Linked DNA regions of Homo sapiens: regions 1 and 3 are each linked to region 2. Evidence: promoter capture Hi-C in human tissues and cell types (Jung and others, 2019). All regions are on one chromosome and are shown on one strand. The core of a region is centred on a gene start or on the middle of the fragment in contact, and the rest is flanking DNA. Distances in the headings are between cores, read along the strand shown. Region 1 overlaps KDM2B (lysine demethylase 2B). Region 2 holds the start of MLXIP (MLX interacting protein). Region 3 overlaps KDM2B (lysine demethylase 2B).

What was found. The method cuts DNA at HindIII sites, captures the fragments that hold promoters and counts their contacts. A contact is called where the count stands out against the background at its distance.
Region 1: a fragment that was not itself captured here is called in contact with the fragment with the promoter of MLXIP in region 2 in 2 of the 25 tissues and cell types used here (aorta and dorsolateral prefrontal cortex).
Region 3: a fragment that was not itself captured here is called in contact with the fragment with the promoter of MLXIP in region 2 in 1 of the 25 tissues and cell types used here (dorsolateral prefrontal cortex).

The regions. Positions count from the first base shown.
Region 1 is chr12:121,475,062-121,478,890 of GRCh38, forward strand. The region is part of intron 12 of KDM2B (lysine demethylase 2B); the gene reads right to left. Among named protein-coding and RNA genes, the nearest start is that of MIR7107, 33 kb to the left of the region's middle. RefSeq lists an enhancer at 1,135-1,962. The HindIII fragment of the contact is 8,981 bases long and covers 1-3,829 here.
Region 2 is chr12:122,076,210-122,080,026 of GRCh38, forward strand. It overlaps MLXIP (MLX interacting protein), which reads left to right and starts at 2,547. Exons shown (of 17, transcript NM_014938.6): 1 at 2,547-3,057. The coding sequence starts at 2,645. RefSeq lists enhancers at 773-822, 2,890-3,129 and silencers at 2,090-2,369, 2,380-2,829. The HindIII fragment of the contact is 9,979 bases long and covers 1-3,817 here.
Region 3 is chr12:121,523,172-121,527,409 of GRCh38, forward strand. The region is part of intron 8 of KDM2B (lysine demethylase 2B); the gene reads right to left. Among named protein-coding and RNA genes, the nearest start is that of KDM2B-DT, 55 kb to the right of the region's middle. RefSeq lists an enhancer at 41-230. The HindIII fragment of the contact is 6,227 bases long and covers 1-4,238 here.

The DNA of each region.
Region 1 (3,829 bases), core at 313-2,812, 600 kb before region 2:
CATACAGCCCAGGTGTGTAGAGGGCTATATCATCTAGGTTTGTATAAGGACATTCTATGACGAAATTGCCTAATGATGCATTCTTCAGAATGTATCCCTGTCATTAAACTACACATGACTCTGTGTGTGTGTGTGTGTGTGTGTGTGTGTGTGTGTGTGTGTGTGTATTTCATCAGACATGTCTTCCCTAGGTTAGCTAATCTGGTCAAAAATGGACACACAAAAAAACTATACCAAAACTTGGAGGCCAGGTGTGGAAGCTCATACCCGTAATGCCAACACTTTGGGAGGCTGAAGCAGGAGGATCACTTGAGCCCAGAGAGCTTGAGACCAGCCTGGGCAACACACTGAGACCCTGTCTTTACAAAAAATAGAAGAAAATTTAGCCAGGCAAGGTGGCATGCACTTTTAAGTCCCAGCTACTCAAGAGGCTGAGGTGTGAGGATCATTTGAGCCCAACAGGTTGCGGCTGCAGTGAGCCAAGATTGTGACTGCACTCAGTCACCCTGGGTGACAGACAGGGACTCTGTCTCAAAAAACAAAACAAAAAAAACAGGCACAGTGGCTCATGACTGTAATCCTAGGACTTTGAGAGGCTAAGGCAGGAGGATTGCTTGAGCCCAAGAGTTTGAGACCAGCCTGGGCAACATGGCAAGACCCCATCTATAAAAAAAAATTTTTTTTAGAAAGAAAATCTTGGAGATGAGGAGAAGACTAACCCCCCTGCCCCACAACCCCCACGTCTTTGAATAGATGTTATTTTCTCTCCAAGAGTTGGGGCATCTCCCTATGGCTCTATCATCACTCAAGAGAGATTTTAGGCCAGGGGCAGTGGCTCACACCTGTTATCCCAACACTTTGGGAGGGCAAGGTAGGAGGATTACTTGAGTCCAGGAGTTTGAGACCAGCCTGAGCAATAGAGTGAGACTCTGTGTCCAAAAAAAAAAAAAATGCCCGGCACGGTGGCTCACGCTTGTAATCCCAGCACTTTGGGAGGCCAAGGCGGGCAGATCACCTGAGGTCAGGAGTTCAAGACCAGCCTGGCCAACATGGTGAAACCCTGTCTCTACTAAAAATACAAAAATTAGCTGGGTATGGTGGCAGGCACCTGTAATCCCAGCTACTCGGGAGGCTGAGGCAGGAGAGTCACTCAAACCCGGGAGGCGGAGGTTGCAGTGAGCCAAGATTGTGCCATTACACTCCAGCCTGAAGGACGAGGGCGAGACTTCGCCTCAAAAAAAAAAAAATTAGCCGAGCATGGTAGTATGCCTGTAGTCCCAGCTATTTGGGAGGCTGAAGTGGGAGTACTGTTTGAGCTCAGGAGTCCCAGGCTGCAGTGAGCTATGATCACGCCACTGCACTCCACCCTGGGTGACCGAACAAGACAAGCGGCATCCAACAGGTAGTTTTTTGTTTTTTGTTTTTAAAAAAAAAAAACCCTGTCTCTTAAAAATAAAATTAAAAAGAGTGACTTTAGGTCCTATTCCTGAAAGGTAACACGGTTAGAAACTATAGGCCCTAAACCCCGGGATGTGTTAAAACTAACTGAAACAAAGAGATAGTTCAATCACCTCTTAAATGAGCTGCTAACAGTCACTGTGGGGGTCTGATGGGCTCCGATGACACTTTAATTCCAATACATATGGCTTTTCTCTCCCTCCTTCCTTCCCTCCCTCCTCCCTTTCCCTGGCTGCTGCCATGGGCCTCTCTCTTCAGTTACCATTCTTGTTCTTCATTTCATGGATTTTCATAGATCCATCAAGACACTCAAAATAGAAAAAGCCTGACAAAATCTATTGTCACCATTTGAAATAGCCATTAACCAACTCCTTACTTTGAAAATCAGCATTTAAAGGGCAAGAAGTGAAGCCCTCACACTGCTGGCTCAGGAGGAACTGTTTTTAGGGGTAGCCCCAGTTGACAAGGAAAAGCTCTGCCAAACATCGCCAGCTAATTCACACGGAATGACATTCTTCAAAGATCATTTTTCATCTCCTGATGAAACAATTTTTTTAATTTGAATCTTGTAGAGACGGAGTCTCACTCTGTCACCCAGGCTGGAGTGCAGTGGTGCCAATGATAGCTGACTGCAGATTCTAACTCCAGGCCTCAAGCAATCCCCCCATCTCATCCAACTAGCTGGGACTACAGGCACAAAGCCACCACACCAGGCTAATTTTTTTTATTTTTTGTGGAGGCATGGTCTCACCTTGGCTTCTAAAAATGGTACCTTCTAAAAAGGTATTGTAAAAATACCTTTCATTACAGGTATGAGCTACCATACCTGGCCTGGCCCCAGTTATTTTTATATATGTATGTATATATGTATTTATTTTTTTAAGAGACAAAGTCTACTCTGTCACCTACGCTGGAGTGCAGTGGCACAATCACAGCCCACTACACCCTCCAACTCCTGAGCTCAAGGGATCCTCCCTCCTTAGCCTCCTGAGGAGCTAGGACTACAGGTGCATGCCACCATGCCCAGCTAATTTTTTTCTTCTTTTCTTTTTGTCTTTCCTTTTTTTTTTTTTTGGAGATGGAGTTTTGCTCTTGTCACTCAGGCTGGAGTGCGATAGCATGATCTCGGTTCACTGCAACTTCTGCCTCCCGGGTTCAAGCGATTCTTGTGCCTCAGCCTCCAGAGTAGCTGGGATTATAGGTGTCTGCCACCACACCCAGCTAATTTTTATATTGTTAGTAGAGACAAAGTTTCACCATGTTGGCCAGGCTGGTCTCAAACTCTTGACCTCGGGTGATCCACCTGCCTTGGCCTCCCAAAGTGCTAGGATTACAGGTGTGAGCCATCGTGCCCAGGCTTTTTTCTTATTTTAAAACTTTTTTTTATCATTAAAAAAATTTTTATGGAGACGGGGATCTCATTATGTTGCCCAGGCTGGTCTTGAACTCCTGAGCTCAAGGGATCCTCCCGTCTCAGCCTCCCAAAGTGTTGGGATTACAGGCGTGAGCCACCTCAACTGGCCTTAAATCTTTTTAAAAGTTCTGTAGAAACAGGTTCTCTCCATGTTGCCCAGGATGGTCAACAAATAACCCTCCCGCCTTGGCCTCCCCTCCCAAAGTGCTGGGATTACAGGAATGAGCCACTGCGTCCAGCTTCCAATATTTTTTTTCTTTTTATGTTCAGCAGTACATGGGCGGGTTTGTTATATAGGTAAATGGTGTGTCGAAGGGGACTGGTGTACAGATCATTTCGCCACTCCGGTAGTAAGCACAACAATACCCAATAGGTAATGTTTTTTGATCCTCGCCCTCTCCTGCCTACCTCCACCCTCAAGTAGATCCTTTTTTTTTTTTTTTTAAGACGGAGTCGTGCTCTGTCGCCCAGGCTGAAGTGCAGTGGCGTGATCTCGGCTCACTGCAACCTCCGCCTCCCAAGTTCACGCCATTCTCCTGCCTCAGCCTCCCGAGTAGCTGAGACTACAGGCTCCCGCCACTACGCCCAGATAATTTTTTGTATTTTTAGTAGAGACGGGGTTTCACCGTGTTAACCAGGATGGTCTCGATCTTCTGACCTCATGATCCACCCGCCTCGGCCTCCCAAAGTGCTGGGATTACAGGCGTGAGCCACTGCGCCCAGCTGACCCCAATTATTTATACTGGGCTCAGGCTCTGTTTTTTTCTTTTTGAACACAGGGTCTCACTCTGTTGCCCAGGCTGGAAGGCAGTGGCACGATCTCGGCTCACTGCAATCTCCGTTGCCCAGGCTCAAGCAATCCTCCCACCTCAGCCTCCCAAGCAGCTGCGACTACAGGCACGTACCACCACAACCGGCTAATTTTTGTTTGTTTGTGTGTGTGTGTGTGTGTGTGTG
Region 2 (3,817 bases), core at 1,297-3,796:
CAGCATTTTGGGAGGTTGAGGCAGGAGGATTGCCTGAGCCCAGGAGTTTGAGACCAGCCTGGGCAACATAGGGAAATTCCATCTCTACAAAAAAATTAAACATTAGCTGGGTGTGGTGGTGCCCACCTGTGGTCACAGCTACTCGGGAGACTGAGGTGGGAGGATAGCTTGGGCAGGGGAGGTTGAGGCTACAGTGAGCCACGATCACACCAATGTGACACAGTGAGACCCTGTCTCAAAAAAAAAAAAAAAGAAAGAAAATATAGGTAAACACAAAGACAAAAAAGCAGGGCATGGTGGCTCACACCTGTAATTCTAGCACCTTGGGAGGCTGAGGCAGGAGGATCACTTGAGGTCAGGAACTCGAGACGAGACCAGGCTGGGCAGCATGGCGAGACCCCATCTCTATAAAAAGTACAAAAATTAGCAGGGCACGGTGGTGTGCACCTGTGGTCCTGCTACTTGGGAAGTTGAGGTGGGAGGATCACCTGAGCCCTGGAGGTTGAGGGTGCTGTGAGCCATGATGGCACCACTCCACTCCAGTCCAGGTGAAAGAGCCAGATCCTGTCTCAAAAAAAAAAAAAAAAAAAAGTGGCTGGGCATGTAAACTTACCAAGGACCAAGGAGACAAGTCTTGAGAGAAAGGAAGGCAACTCAAAGGATGGACTTTTAAACACTTGTAACCAGCATTGGGAACAGTAGTAGGTTGAAGAGGGAAATCTAGAACTCATGCCTGAAAACTGCCAGTCATCCAGCCCATTTTTCCATACAGACATTTGGAAATAAGTTAATGGAGCCATTTTGGTGAGAGCCCTCTGTTCCCTTCAGGAGGCCTTTGTCAGGAAGAGGGTGGGGCAGGGGACTCACCCCCCACTCAAATCTGGAACTGAAACCAGCTTCAAAGCCGAGTGCAGAGCCAGCGCGGTGGCTCATGCCTGTCATCCCAGCACTTTGGGAGTCCAAGGCAGGCCTCACTTGAGGTCAGGAGTTCCAGACCGGCCTGGCCAACATGGTGATTGCACCACTGCGCTACAGCCTTGGGTGACAGAGCAAGACTCTGTCTCAAAAAACAAAACAACAATAAAACAAAGCAGAGTGCAGGAGTGGCTGTGGACTCTGGACGCCCTGCTAGGATTAGGATGGGTGTTCCTGGCTCATGGGCCTCACTGGCTCTTCTGATGCCCTGCCACCCCCACCCCAGACTGGCTTTGAGCCCCGGAAACCTTGACAGCTTTCTAGAGGTGTCTGTCAGTTAGGTTGTGCCACGCGAAGTTGCCGTTTCTGCAGGTCAAATAGTGGTGGACTATTGGCAATTTCTAGGCACCTCTGGTCTGGTTGATCCAAATCCTCCAACCTGTGGCACATTTATTTAGCGCTCATTTTGTGCCAGCCTGCCTGCTAAGCAACTTATAGCCATTTTTATTTGTATTTATTTTTCTTTTTGAGACAGGGCCTCGCTCTGTCGCCCAGGCTAGAGTGCAATGGCGCAATCTCGGCTCACTGCAACCTCCACCTCCCGGATTCAAGCGATTCTCCTGCCTCAGCCTCCCGAGTAGCTGGGATTACAGGGGTGCACCACTACGACCGGCTAATTTTTGTTATTTTTAGTAGAGACAGGGTTTCACCGTGTTGGCCTGGCTGGTCTTGAACTTCTGGCCTCAAGTGATCCACCCGCCTCGGCCTCCAAAAGTGCTAGGATTACAGGCATGAGCCACCGCGCCCCACTATAGCCATTTTTAAACTGTCCCAAGTTTCTGAGGAAACGGAATTGTTCACCATTTGACAGAGAAGAAAACTCTGGCTCAGATACTCCCCTTTTAGAATTGTTTCGGGGGCTGGCTCGTCCGTCAAACTTTAAAAAAATAACAACAGCATGCTGAGTTGAAGTTAAAAGAGCTGGGGTCTGGAGGTCGCTGGGCTCAGGGGCGCTGCCACTCAACAGCTGCGCCGAGCTGGGGACGCGCAGGGGAAGCAAGTTCCCAGCTCTGTGGACTCCAGGTCTGAGAAAAATCCTGTCGGTATTCAGCCACCCAGTGTTCCCATCAATACGATGAGAATAATGAGGACAATAGCCACCACGTCCGGCAAACTCAGGCGTGAGCTGCGAGGACTCGGTACCGCCCGGCAGGGAAAAAGCAGGGCCTGGAGGCCGAGGAGCCCCACCCGCACCCACCACGTGGAGCCGGCCGGGCCTGCGGCGAAGCCACAGGGCGACTCCCGGGGCGCGGAGCGGGGCGGGGGCGGGACTAGCACGGCCCCACTCTGCCGACGCCTCTCCCAGGTCGCGACACCGGCGAGCCGCTCCGCCCGGCCACCGTGTCCCTCAGCACCCACGGACGCCGGGAGAGGAGGAGGTGGCGAGGGGCACGGCCGGGAGGCGTGGCCTCCGCTTCCCCTTTTTTTTTTTTTTTGGTCCGCCTAGCTAAGGAAAGGTTCCCCTGCGCCTTTAAGAGGCCGACGCGGGCAGCCGATTGGCCCAGACGCCTCGGTGACGTCACGCCGGGGCCGGAGCCCTCCCCCTCCCGCCGCGCCGCGCGCTCGCGGACAGTCGGCGCGCGGGCCGGGCCGGGCCGGCGCCCCTCTGCCTCGCGCGCTTGTCGCGTTGCCCCGGGCTCCGGGGGATGCCCCCGGCCGAGCCCTTCTCATGGCCGCCGACGTCTTCATGTGCTCCCCGCGCCGGCCTCGCAGCCGGGGCCGCCAGGTGCTGCTCAAGCCCCAGGTGTCCGAGGACGACGACGACTCGGACACGGATGAGCCGTCCCCGCCGCCCGCCTCCGGCGCGGCCACCCCGGCCCGGGCCCACGCGAGCGCCGCGCCACCGCCGCCTCGGGCCGGGCCGGGCCGCGAGGAACCTCCGCGCCGCCAGCAGATCATCCACAGCGGCCACTTCATGGTGTCGTCGCCGCACCGAGAGCACCCGCCCAAGAAGGGCTACGATTTCGACACGGTCAACAAACAGACGTGCCAGACCTACAGCTTCGGCAAGACTAGCTCCTGCCACCTGTCCATCGACGCCTCGCTCACCAAGCTCTTCGAGTGCATGACTTTGGCCTACAGGTAGGGACCCCCGCGACCCCCTGAGGCCCCGGCCGGAGGCCCTTGTTTGACAAAACAAGCGTGGAGGGAAGGGCCGCCTGGCAACCCCGTGGCTTCATGCATTCCCTTTGGGTCTTCCTCCTTCGGGAGGGTTTATGGATCTGGGGTTCCCCGCGTTGCCAGAGGAGCCGGGGTCCTGGCCTCTTCCCCTGCCAGCAGTGCCGGGGTCCTTTCGGGTTCACGTTCCCCATCCAGGCCCTCCCCTCCAGTGTCCTGGGACCACCGATGTTGGACGAGGAAGAGGTATAAACACTGGCTGCATCTTGTGTTACCCGACTCTATCGACTCCTTCCTCCAAACGCTTTGTGTGTTTCCCCCATATCCAGCAGCGGTCAGGACCACCTGTTCGGGGTGACTGGAGGCTGGCTCTGCTGTTTAATGGTTGTGTAACACCTCGGAGCCTGTTTCCTCCTTTATAAAAGGGGAATGACTGTAGTGTCTGCCTCCAAGGGGCTGTTGTGGGGATGGAGTGAGATAGGTAAATTGCTTATTCCAGTGCTTGGCCAGAGTTAGGTGTCCCTGCACCTGGAGGCTGGCCCCCTTACAACCTCATCGGGAGGCCCGCCCCCATCTCGGGAGGGCTTTGGGTGCCTCCTAAGAAGACTTTTGGTGCCACAGCTGTTGGAGGTGCAGTCTGTCCTTCTGGCAAGTTGGAGGGTTTTCTGGCCGGTCCTGAAACATTATATGAGGGAGATGTCATTGTTGAGGGCAGACATCCCAG
Region 3 (4,238 bases), core at 408-2,907, 550 kb before region 2:
CGGCTCCGTTTTTAGCCAGCACGCTGCACAGCTGCCGCTGCATCAAAGGTTCTGCACAGGACTGCAAGTCCCGGGGGAAAGGCTGGGAAATACAGAGGGGAGGCAAAAGGAGAAACGCAGAGAGAAATAAGGACAAGGGCGGACAGAGGCGGAGCAACTCACAGTGAAGGACAGAGGAGGGTTGGCTGGGGGAATGGTGCAGCAGAGGGAAGGGTGGCGGTGCCCCAAGACCCTGCACCTTGAAGGGCCTGGCCCTGGAGGCCGCTGTCCCCTCCTCTCCCAGCCATGCACTTTATTCTTTTGCTCTGAGGAAAATTACAGCGACTGCCTCTGCCCCCCAAGCCCGAGCGGTTCCAGTCTGTCCCCCAATGAAACACGCCAGCCCTGAGTCATGGGTGGTCACCACTGCTGGGAGCAACGCTCCTGCCTGGAAGACAGCACAGACTGCGGGGCCACTGCTGGCATCCGCAGTGGACACTCAGCCGCTGTCCCTTCCCACCAGGGCAACGCATGGAACAGAGCTGGCCATCCTCAGGGGAGAGCAAGGGAAAGCTCATCACCAGAAGCCCAGTGCTGCCGGGTACAGGCACGAGGGCTTTGCTTTAGGCAACCTCGTTCTGTGCCTGGCTCCCCGGGTCTCTGGCGTGAGCCATGAAAGACAGCTGCTCTGTGCGGTTGCAAGCGGCCGTCGAGCTCCCCAGCTTCCCATCCCACGACCTTCACCCTCCTCTGCACAGAAGCATGGCTGCCGCCCTGAAAGAGCCTCTGTCTCCACATCCGCTTCAGTCTCCTGCCTCTGCTGCCTGCAGGCTGACCTCAACATTTCCATGTTTCCACCAAGTGGAACCATGCTATTGAATGCTGTTATTGTCGCCATCCCCGTTATCCTAGCAACATTTCCTAAGATTGGGACCCGGGACCACCGGGTCATGTGATGCACAGGCAGGTGCATCTTATATGGCCCCACAAGCCTACCTCCCTCCCTGCAGAAAGCCCAAGTCCAGGGGCTAGGGTTCCATCCTGTCCCCTCCACTCCCCTCCCTTCTGGGGAACTTGGTGAGCAAGTCCTGAATCCATATAAGCAATTGGCATTGGTATCTGTGGTTGTCTCTGTCGATCACAAGGGCTCTGGTAGAGGATGGTGCCCACATGCATCCATCTTTCCCAGCCCTGGACTCTCCCTGTTCTCCTGGCAGGTGCAGAGGCCAACGCACCTGACTTACATCTGTTGCCCTGACACGTGAGGAAAGAGGAACACAGAGGAGAGCTGCTGCTGCGAGGAGGGGGCAGGGGATCTGCACGCCCAGACACTCGAGGGATTCTAGAAGCTTTTACCCACTCCCCTTCGCAGCCAGGGCCTCAAGGGTGGGTCAGGCAGCCACCCCTGGATTAGCCGCCACTGCGTCCCTCCCCCAGCTCTGCTCACATCTGCTTCATTACCCACATGCCTCCCTCAGTAAGAAGGAGGTGTGGAAATAACAGCGTTTGTGGGCCCCATCCATACCCCTCCTCCGATGGCCTCTCGACAGCCCAGGAAGCATGAGAGCCGGTGCTCCCAGGCTGCTGCCTGGGCTGGGAACGCTGGCATCTGCCTCCTGCTTCCAGCCAGAGTCATCGACAATATGAAGGCAATAAACAGAGGCTATTCAGGCCAAGCGACCAGGGACAGATGCAGTCATAGATGGGAAGCCAGTGATACACAAAGCAGCACATTCTCTGGGACCTCAGGGGGCCCAAGAAGGGCAGCAGGGGCAGGTGGGGCTCACCCACAACCTGAGCGTCTGCTCAGGACTCGGAATCCAAAGGCCCCACCCACATCTGCCTCCACCTCTGTGGCTTTAGCAGGAATAAACCTAGAGGTCTCAGAACTGGGCAAGGGACACCTCACAGACGCCCACAACCCAACCGGACCCTGGCTTCTTTCACCGACATCAGTGAACTCCCTGCGCCGGGCCAGGATCAGGAACGAACCTGTGGCTGCTGACATGAAGTAAGGATACTCTCCCTTCAAGGACCTCATAGTTGGGACCAGGGGCCAATTACTTCACGCCACCCCATGTTTAAAAATGGGGATATTTCTTTTGTTGTTGTTTTGTTGGGTTTTTGTTTTTTTGAGACAGAGCCTTACTGTGTCACCCAGGCTGGAGTGCAGTGGTGCCATCTCGGCTCACTGCAACCTCCACCTCCCAGGTTCAAGCCATTCTCCTGCCTCAGCCTCCTGAGTAGCTGGAATCACAGGCACACAAATTTTTACTAGAGATGAGGTTTTACCATGTTGGCCAAGCCGGTCTCTAACTCCCAGCCTCAGGTGATCCGCCCACCTCAGCCTCCCAAAGTGCTAAGTGCTGGGATTACAGGCGTGAGCCACCGTGCCACGCCAGTACATTCCATGTGACAATCTGAAATGCTGCCTTCCACCTAGAAAAATAGGAAGGTCTGGATTCCCACCTGGCCCTAGCTGGACTGGCTGAGCAGGTACTGCCCAGTTTCCCACGGCCCCAACCCATCCAGTCCCCTTCCCTGCTTTAGACCCATTTGATAGATGGATCGTCTGAGGCCCAACCACGTGACACCATTAAGGAATTTCTTCTCAGACTTGCTGGAGTGTAAGAAATACCTGGGGCTACCATGATATTTGGGTCTTCAGTGGTTCTTTCTAGAATGCAAGGATGGGAAATAACTTTAGGCCAGCCCAAGTCACAGATCCCTGGGTCTTCCCCAGGCACTGCCATCCCCACTTATATGACAAATAAGGTCCCCATACTGGCCTCTGCCACCCTGGATGCCACCTGGCTGGATAAGCTGCTCTCAGGAGGGAGGGGATCTGTCTTATGTCCCCTCCAAGGCCCCCCACATCATCTGGCACCAAGTGGGCCCTTAAGAAAGTTTGTTAAATGAAGCCGAGACTGGTAGCTCACACCTGTAATCCCAGCACTTTGGGAGGCCAAGGCAGGCGGATCACTTGAAGTCAGGAGTTTGAAACCAGCCTGGCCAACATGATGAAACCCCGTCTCTACTAAAAATAGAAAAAATTAGCTGGGTGTGGTGGCACACGCCTGTAATCCCAGCTACTCAGGAGGCTGAGGCAGGAGAATCACTTGAACCCAGGAGGTAAAAGTTGCAGTGAGCCAATATTGTGCCATTGCCCTCCAGCCTGGGTGACAGAGCAAGACTCTGCCTCAGGGGAAAAAAAAAAGAAAGTTTGTTAAATGAGCAAATAGTTCTCACATAGTCAAGAGTCAAGAAGGAGGACCAGATCCCAAGTCTCCTGACTCCCAAGCTACTGGAGTTCAAAGTAGGTATATTTAGGAATATGTGTTTTCAAAGTAGGCACACCTGGGTTCTTGCTCTGACCTGGTCACTGTGAGATCTTGGGCCTTAGGTATTTTCTTTATTTGTTTAAAAAAAAATGGTGTCACATGCCTGTAGTCCCAGCTACCCTAGAGGCTGTGATAGGACGATTGTTTAAGCCCAGGAGGTCAAGGCAACACTGCAATGAGCTGTGATCACAACATTGCACTCCAGTCTGGGCACAAGAGCAAGACCATGTCTCTAAAACAAAATTTAAAAATTTTTTTAGCCGGGCACAGTGGCTCACACCTGTAATCCCAGCACTTGGGGAGGCCGAGGCGGGCCGATCACCTGAGGTCAGGAGTTCAAGACCAGCCTGGGCAACATGGTAAAACCACGTCTCTACTAAAACTACAAAAATTAGCTGGGCGTGGTGGTGCACACTTGTAATCCCAGCTACTCAGGAGGCTGAGGCAGGAGAATCACTTGAACCCAGGAGGCGGAGGTTGCAGTGAGCCGAGATCATGCCATTGCACTCCAGCCTTGGCAACAAGAGCAACGCTCTGTCTGAAAAATTAAATAAATTTCTTTTTTATATTTTTTGAGACGGAGTCTCGCTCTGTCGCCCAGGCTGGAGTGCAGTGACGTGATCTCTGCTCACTGCAAGCTCTGCCTCCCGGGTTCACACCATTCTCTGGCCTCAGCCTCCCGAGCAGCTGGTACTACATAGGCACCCGCCGCCACGCCCAGATAATTTTTTTTTTTTTGTATTTTTAGTAGAGACGGGGTTTCACCGTGTTAGCCAGGATGGTCTCAATCTCCTGATCTGCCCGCCTTGGCCTCCCAAAGTGCTGGGATTACAGGCGTGAGCCACTGTGCCCAGCCTAAAAAAAAATTGTTTAAAAAAAGGTGGGGAGGCCGGGCACGGTGGCTCACACCTGTAATCC